Regions from separate parts of the Homo sapiens genome. Here region 1 is linked to region 2. The links are contacts of gene promoters, found by promoter capture Hi-C in blood cells and fetal thymus (Javierre and others, 2016). All regions are on one chromosome and are shown on one strand. Each heading gives the region's core, a stretch centred on a gene start or on the middle of the fragment in contact. The rest is flanking DNA. Distances are from core to core; before and after follow the strand shown. Region 1 holds the start of RBM3 (RNA binding motif protein 3). Region 2 holds the start of ZNF630 (zinc finger protein 630).

The links. The method cuts DNA at HindIII sites, captures the fragments that hold promoters and counts their contacts. A CHiCAGO score of 5 or more calls a contact.
Region 1: the fragment with the promoter of RBM3 here is called in contact with the fragment with the promoter of ZNF630 in region 2 in 8 of 17 cell types (naive CD4 T cells, total CD8 T cells, total CD4 T cells and 5 more); the score reaches 8.0 in naive CD4 T cells.

What each region holds. Positions count from the first base shown.
Region 1 is chrX:48,571,416-48,575,748 of GRCh38, forward strand. RBM3 (RNA binding motif protein 3) reads left to right here and starts at 3,069. Exons shown (of 7, transcript NM_006743.5): 1 at 3,069-3,158; 2 at 3,753-3,868; 3 at 4,146-4,252. The coding sequence starts at 3,766. RefSeq lists a cis regulatory region at 2,202-3,187 and enhancers at 2,944-4,143, 3,127-3,396. The HindIII fragment of the contact is 13,325 bases long and covers 1-4,333 here.
Region 2 is chrX:48,068,893-48,072,963 of GRCh38, forward strand. It overlaps ZNF630 (zinc finger protein 630), which reads right to left and starts at 2,748. Exons shown (of 5, transcript NM_001282201.2): 1 at 2,375-2,748. RefSeq lists an enhancer at 2,719-2,978 and a silencer at 2,890-3,086. The HindIII fragment of the contact is 4,069 bases long and covers 495-4,071 here.

The DNA of each region.
Region 1 (4,333 bases), core at 1,819-4,318, 500 kb after region 2:
GGCCAACATGGTGAAACCCCATCTCTACTAAAAATACAAAAATTAGCTGGGCGTGGTTGCACGCGCCTGTAGTCCCAGCTACTCAGGAGGCTGAGGCAGGAAAATCACTTGAACCCAGGAGGCGGAGGTTGCAGTGAGCCAAGATCGCGCCACTGCACTCCAGCCTGGCGACAGAGTGAGACTCTGTCAAAAAAAAAAAAAAAGCTCAGAAGTCAGGTACAATAGTGCTCCCCTGTAATCCCAGTTACTCAGGAGGCTGAGTTGGGGAGAATGCTTGAGGCCAGGAGTCAGCCTGGGCTCATCTCTTAAAAACAACAATAACAACAAAACCAGCAACAAACCACCTCAGAGACAGACCCATATATCTATGGAACTTGATACATGATAGAGGTGGTAAAACACACACAGGGATGGGACAGATTGCTTAATAGATGGTGATGGGGCATCTGGCTCATGACACAGAGAAAAATAAAATTGGAGCTCTATCTCACACCATATACAAGGACGAACTCTACATGGATTAAAGACCTAAATGTGGCCGGGTGCGGTGGCTCATGCCTGTAATCCCAGCACTTTGGGAGGCCGAGGCAGGCGAATCACTTGAGGCCAGGAGTTCAAGACCAGCCTGGCCAACATGGCAAAAACCTGTCTCTACTAAAAATGCAAAAATTAGCCAGGTGTGGTGGCACACACCTGTAATCCTAGCTACGCAGCAGGCTGAGGCAGGAGAATTGCTTGAACCCAGGAGGCGGAGGTTGCAGTGAGCCGAGATAGTGCCATTGCACTCCAGCCTGGGCAACAAGAGCGAAACTCTGTCAAAAAAAAAAAAAAAGAAAGAAAGAAAGAAACTGTAGGGGAACATTTTGTGACCTGGGAAAGAGAATGATTTCTTTAAAAGCACAGACCAGGCCGGGCGTGGTGGCTCACGCCTGTAATCCCAGCACTTTGGGAGGCCGAGGCAGGCGGATCATGAAGTCAGGAGTTTGAGAACAGCCTGAACAACATGGTGAAACCTCATCTCTACTAAAAATACAAAAATTAGCTGGGCATAGTGGCACATGCCCGTAATCCCAGCTACTCAGGAGACTAAAGCAGGAGAATCACTTGAACCTGGGAGGCGGAGGTTGCAGTGAGCTGAGATCATGCCACTGCACTCCAGCCTGAGCGACAGAGTGAGACTCCGTCTCAGAAAAAAGCACAGAACATAGGGGGAAAAATGATTATATCAAAATTATGGATCTTTATTCAACTAAGTTTACTGCTTACAAAGTTAATAACACAAATGCCAGAGCTGGAGAGGCTATTTCCAACACCTAAGGGATTAATAATTAGACTATGTGAGGAATCCCTGACAATAACAGGAAGATAAATATGGGAATTACCCCAACAGGAATATGGATGTACTGTATTCTGTATGTTAGCAAATTTGGTCTGTGTTGGGCAAATTCATTCTATGGATAAGAAATTTAGCCTCTGAGGGCAAACTAACTTATTCTTCGTTGATGTGGCGCTCAGAAGTGAAAAATCTGTCAAATCCATTTATTGTAAAGGTGGCCAAGACACTGAAGACTAAATTGTGAACAGTGGGCTCAGACACTACTTGATTGGGATAAGTCTATTGTGTATTGCGAAAGTCCCTTCTGTGAATCAAGGGCTCAGTTACTTTTTTTTTTTTTTTGAGACTGAGTCTTGCTCTGTCGCCCAAGCTGGAGTGCAGTGGCATGATCTCAGCTCACTGCAACCTCCACCTCCCGGGTTCAAGCGATTATCCCGCCTCAGCCTCCTGAGTAGCTGGGACTACAGGTGCCTACCACCACGCCCGGCTAATTTTTTTTTTTTTTTGTATTGTTAGTAGAGACAGGGTTTCACCATATTGGCCAGGGTAGTCTTGAACTCCTGACCTTGTGATCTGCCCACTTCGGCCTCCCAAAGTGCTGGGATTACAGGCATGAGCCACTGCGCCCGGCAAGGGCTCAGTTACTTTCGAAGAGAGCAAAAATTGCTCTATGGATTGGGATTTACAACCTCTGAAGATCGTAGCATCCTCTTTTGTTTTGTTTTGTTTTCACCCAGGCTGGAGTGCAATGGCGTGGTCTCGGCTCACTGCAACCTCCGCCTCCCGGGTTCAAGCGATTTTCCAGCCTCAGCCTCCCGAGTAGGTGGGACTACAGGCACGTGCCACCACACCCAGCTAATTTTTTTTTTCTTTTTTTTTTTTTTTTTTTTTTTTTGTATTTTTAGTAGAGATGGGGTTTCACCATGTTGGCCATGCAGGTCTCGAACTCCTGAACTCGTGAACCGCCCGCTTTGGCCTCCCAAAGTGCTGGGAATACAGGCGTGAGCCACCGCGCCCGGCCAGCATCCTGTTTTGTAAAAGCCATCTCAGGCAGTCTATTGGTGAGAAAATTAAGGGGCTGGCTTCACGCCAGCAGTCAGACAAGGGTGAGGGCTGAAGTCAGAGATGAGATGGAATGACGCCAGGGAAAAGGGTCCCATGACAGGCGGCTAGATGTTGAGCACAGAGGAGAAAGAGTAGGAGTCAGGGTCAAACCTTAAAACGTTGGGTCTGACATCATGGACTGTGAAGGGTGATGACATCAGTGACGGTGGGGGATAAAATGTCAGGCCTTTAAAGGGTATGAGGTTAAAGAACTAGAAGGTGAAGGAGGTTAACATCAGAGAATGGCAGGGACCTAGAGGAAGACGACTACGATGGTGAGGAAGACATCCGATCCAGCGGGGGAAATGATGGCAAGGACGGGAGGATGATGTCAGGGACAGCAAGTAGTATGAGATTGAGAAGGTTCCTTTGTGGAAGGGATAAAGGCAGCTCAGCCGGTTGTGGGGGGGATGCTGACGTTTAGGGTGCACCAGCTGTTCAAAAGTCGACCCCATTTCCGGAAACACCCCATTTCCGGAAACACCCCATTTCGCGGAGAACACTGCTCCCTTCGCTTTGCTGTCCCTTCCTCTCCCCACCACTCCGCTCCTGCTGGCCTCAGCCAATCAGCACGCACGCCGGGACGCGCAAGGGGAACGTTCCGGGACGTTCTCGCTACGTACTCTTTATCAATCGTCTTCCGGCGCAGCCCCGTCCCTGTTTTTTGTGCTCCTCCGAGCTCGCTGTTCGTCCGGGTTTTTTACGTTTTAATTTCCAGGTAAGTTGCATATGTCCTGCGAAACGGCGGCTCCTCGCCACACACGCGCCGCGCCGGCCGTGACCGGGGAATAGCGAGTGGGGAGAGTAATGGCCACTGACACGTAGGCTTGGCTTTCTCTGGGACGGGCGGGTCCCGTGCTTGGAGGTGAAACATTTCGGTTGGTGGGAGGCCGGCGCGCTGTATCTGAGTGTGAGGCCTACCGGGAGGGACTGGTGGCGTCGGTGGTGGCAGTGACCACGCGACAGCCGACACTTACTTTCCTTATCCCACGTGGCCGCCGCCATCTTGTTCTGCCGGCGTTAAGGGAACGCAGGGATGTTCTGGGCTTGCGCAGTGGCACAAAATGACGGGCGTGGCGGCTATGAATGTGAGAGCATGCGCAATGTGGCCCCCTAATGGTGGCTGCGCTGAGCCAGCTCCTCAGATTACCACCTTATTGGCCGCCTTTCTCAGCTTTTCTGTAGTTACCCATATTTTGTTCCTCTTTCTTGTCTATTTTCTGTGCTTTTTCTCTGCTTTCCGTCTCGCTATTTTCTCACATCTCCATTTTCTTTCTCCTTCCTGCCACCATTCTTCATGTTCTTCCCACAGGACTTGAACTGCCATGTCCTCTGAAGAAGGAAAGCTCTTCGTGGGAGGGCTCAACTTTAACACCGACGAGCAGGCACTGGAAGACCACTTCAGCAGTTTCGGACCTATCTCTGAGGGTGAGACGGGCCATACTCACAATGGGGGTTGGTGAGAGAAAGTCTGGGATCCTTGCATTTCAAGGAGTATTAACTGAAAAGTTAGGACCCACGCCTCCAAATTCTTTTTCTTCCTAAGCCTATGGTGTAGACTAAGGATGAGGGGAAGCGTCTTTGGGATTAGTGGGAGCGCTCCGTTTTCCCTACCTATGCCATCTCCTTTTCCGGCCACCCTTTGCTACTTAACCTTTGGGGTACTGACTGGTCCACATTGCTCCATCTTCTCTCCCTCTCACAGTGGTCGTTGTCAAGGACCGGGAGACTCAGCGGTCCAGGGGTTTTGGTTTCATCACCTTCACCAACCCAGAGCATGCTTCAGTTGCCATGAGAGCCATGAACGGAGAGGTGGGGCCTCCTATCTGCAGAGGGACCTTGTCCCCATCTGCGGCTTCCTTCATTCTTTTTGTTTTTCCCTCTGTGTCTGCT
Region 2 (4,071 bases), core at 1,498-3,997:
ACTGTAAAATGAAGAAGAGGCAGAACACAAGAATGTATTCCTAATTGTTTAATAACAGAATAACAGGCCAGGGGTGGTGGCTCACACCTGTCATCCCAGTACTTTGGGAGGCCAAGGCAAGAGGATTGCTTGAGTCCAGGAGTTCGAGGCCAGCCTGAGCAACATAGTGAGACCTCGTTTCTACAAAAAATAAACAAAATTAGCCGGGCGTGGTGGTGCACACCTGTAGTCCTGGCTACTTGGCAGGCTGAGGCAGGAGAGTCACTTGAATCCGGGAGGCGGAGGTTGCAATGTGCTGAGATCACGCCATTGCACTCCAGCCTGGGCAACAGAATGAGACCCTGTCAAAGAAAAAAAAAAAGGAAAAGAAAAGAAAACAAAAAAAAAATACCATGTAGATCACACATTCTCACTGGGGGGTGATACTGCCCCCAAGGGGACAAAAATTAGTTCTTGGAGGCAAAACAAAACAAAACAAAACAAAAACAAAAAAAAGCTTCTTAGATATTACAATGGGTTGTGACCCTCCAAAGCAACCATAGCTGACAAAACCTTATTCCTTGGTATTTAATTTCCTTCACCAGATTTTGGTATTACATGAGCAGCAGTAACCTTGAGTTCAAGGAAGATCCATGAAATATATACAAAATTAGTGCTGCAAAACTATGGCGAATAGGTAACATTCAGGTATTAACTCACTTCTCATCCCAAGCCTCACAGGGTAGGCCCTGCTATTATCCTCATTTCGCAGTGGGAAACTGATGCCTAGAGAGGTTTCATGAGTTGTCTAAGATCACACTGCCAGTGATTTAGAGCGAGGTGGTAGAGGAACAAAAAGTAAAGAACTCCTCCCAAGCTGTCCTAGCACTAAGATTTTCAGGCAACACCCCTTGCTTCTGGATGCCCTAAAAAATTAGTTATCCTCCTAAATTCCACAGGACATTGTCTGTTTTTTTTTTTTTTGTTTTTTGTTTTTTGTTTTTGAGATGGAGTCTCGCTCTGTCGCCCAGGCTGGAGTGCAGTGGCGCGATCTCGGCTCACTGCAAGCTCCGCCTCCCTGGTTCACTCCATTCTCCTGCCTCAGCCTCCCCAGTAGCTGGGACTACAGGAGCCCGCCACCACGCCCAGCTAATTTTTTTGTAATTTTAGTAGAGACGGGGTTTCACCGTGTTAGCCAGGATGGTCTCGATTTCCTGACCTCGTGATCCGGCCGCCTCGGCCTCCCAAAGTGCTGGGATTATAGGTGTGAGCCACCACGCCCAGCCGATATTGTCTGCTTTTTAACTGAAGAATGTGCTTTACAGTTCAAAATTAACTGAAAATCTTCATATTTAAAGCCATAAAATGAAAAGAGAAGCCAAAAGCTGGAAGGAGATATTTGCAAAACACATACCACTACTAAAGGAGTGGTATCAGAATATATAAAAACAATTCCTGGCCGGGCACGGTGGCTCACACCTGTAATCCCAGCACTTTGGGAGGCCGAGGTGGGTGTATCACCTGAGGTCAAGAGTTCGGGACCAGCCTGGCCAACATGGCGAAACCCTGTCTCTACTACAAATACAAAAAAATCAGCCAGGCGTGGTGGCAGGCGCCTGTAATTCCAGCTACTCGGGAGGCTGAGGTAGGATAATTGCTAGAACCCAGGAGGTGGAGGTTGCAGTGAACCATGATTTCTCCACTGCACTCCAGCCTGGGCGACAGAGTGAGACTTCGTCTAAAAAAAAAAAAAAAAAAAAAAATTCCTACAAATCATTAAGAAAAGGGCAGAGAGTCCAACAGAAAAATGAACAAAAGACAGGCCCCTCACAAAAGAAGATCTCCAAGTGATGAATCCATATAAGAAAATGTGCTCAAACTTATTGGTCATGAGGGAAATACAAATCAAACCACCAAGTTGGACTTCTCCATCGGAATGTGGACACCACAGGAGCAGAGATTTTTGTTCATTCATGCACATATGATTGATCTGAAAAAGCCACCCATCATGGACCCCACAGAATGTCAACACTGACCCCACACACACTCCCATTCTTGTCCTCATAGACCCTCATCCCTCACCCCAGATCCCCCTATCCACTCACCCCACGGATCAGCATCCCTCACCCTACAGACCACCCATCACTCACCCCAGACTCCCTTCACCCATCCCATAGAAGCCCCATCACTCACCCTTACAGACATCATCAAACACCGCACAGATCCCCCATCACCCCACAAACTCCCATTTGCATAACCCACATACTGTTACCCCTGGTCCCACAGGCTCCCCTATCACTGTTCTCCACGTCACTCAATCCCCTCCTCAGGCCCTCCACTTGTCTCCATCCGTCACTGATCACATAGACCCGCAGCACTCAGCCAGGCCCCTCACCCCGGCTCTGCTCTCAAGCCGGGCTTGGCTCCCCGCCTGCCCAAATGCGTTCAACATCCCCCGAAAGGCCATTTCCCTTCCAGTCTTCCCGGAGAGATGTCAGGGTGACGAGGGAGCTTATCTTTCGGTGGCTCCGAAACAGCCACGAAGCCGAGCTCTACCAGTAACAAAAATGGCGTCATTCCGCCAGCGCCAGGACCTCTGTCGCTGGCCGTGGTCTCGCACTGCTTCTGGAGGCTCCCATTCCAGCCAGAGGAGAGGTGCGTTTGGGGGCCCGGGGGAGTCCTCGTGATATCTCCGAGTTTGGGTATTCGGAATTGATCCTACGAAAGCAGTGTGAGGCTTGGAAGGGCCGCGACTTGTCCGGGTGAGTGGGCGTTCCCGGCCACCAGAAGAGGCACGGCCTGAGCAAAGGCGTGGCGACATGGCAGGGTGGGAAACGGGGAAAGTGGGAAGGCTGGACAGAGCACCCCCCGGGAGATTCCTCCGCAGAAGCGAATTCCTAAAACGTCTGGAGAAAGGGAAGAGACCTTTGACATCATGCAGCCTTTCAGGGGGCTCACACATACCCGCCCACTTCTCCCCACCTGGCCTCGGCGCCCTGCCGCCTTCCTATTGTTCCTGCTTGGCGTCAGGACCCGCCCCCATCTGTCACTCACTGCCCACCGGTCCTCCATTGGCTCCTTTGAACACGGAAGGGCCCACCTTCACCTGTCATTTACAGCCTGGACTTCTGCCTGCCCTAGTTCAAGTAGGCTTATATGGCCTTTTGCAGCCCGTATCAAAACTAAAAGAGTTCATAGAGTCAGAGGTTCGAGGTAAAACCTAAGGGACATTGGTTTTAGACGACTTAACAAAGGGCTGGATTGGAAGTCAGCCCGGAACAGGATTGCAGAGTTAACAAAGGTTCATGTTCGATACAAAACGGGAACTCTGATGGTTACAATAGTTAAGAAAGTCCTAGGATTCAAGACCTCTATCAGGGTGTATGGATGGAGAAAACATTAACAAATATCCTGCTTGAAGATCAAATCAGAGGGGCACTGGTGGTGCAATAGTAACCCAATTCCAAAGTTATTTCAGAGAGGCCTTAAATGGAAGGTTAACTTAGACCCAAATCTGAGCCAAGACCAGAGACCCATTAAAGTCACGTGATGTGGTTAACAGAGCCCCGGAATTCACAGCCTATACCAAAGGGGTAATGATGGTGGAAGAATTAATCAAGGTCTGACTTCAAAGTCAAACCAAATGGCATTCATGATAAAAATGTTAACTGAGGGCTGGGCACAGTGGCTAACACTTGCAATCTCAGAACTTTGGGAGGCCAAGGCGGGAGGATCACTTGAGGCCAGGAGTTAGAGACCAGCCTGGCCAACATGGCAAAACCCTATCTCTACTAAAAATACAAAATTTAGCCAGATGTGGTGGCACATGCCTGTAGTCTCAGCTGCTTGGGAGGCTGAGGCATGAGAATCGCTTGAACCTGGGAGGTGGAGGTTGCAGTGGGCCAAGACTGTGACACTGCACTCCAACCTGGGGGAGAGACAAAACTCTGTCTCAAAAAATAAAAATAAGAAAAAAATGTTAACTGAGGGCCGGGCACAGTGGCTGACACCTGTAATCCCAGGACTTTGGGAGGCTGAGGCGGGAGGATCATGTGAGCCCAGGAGATCAAGACCAGTCTGGGCAACATAGTG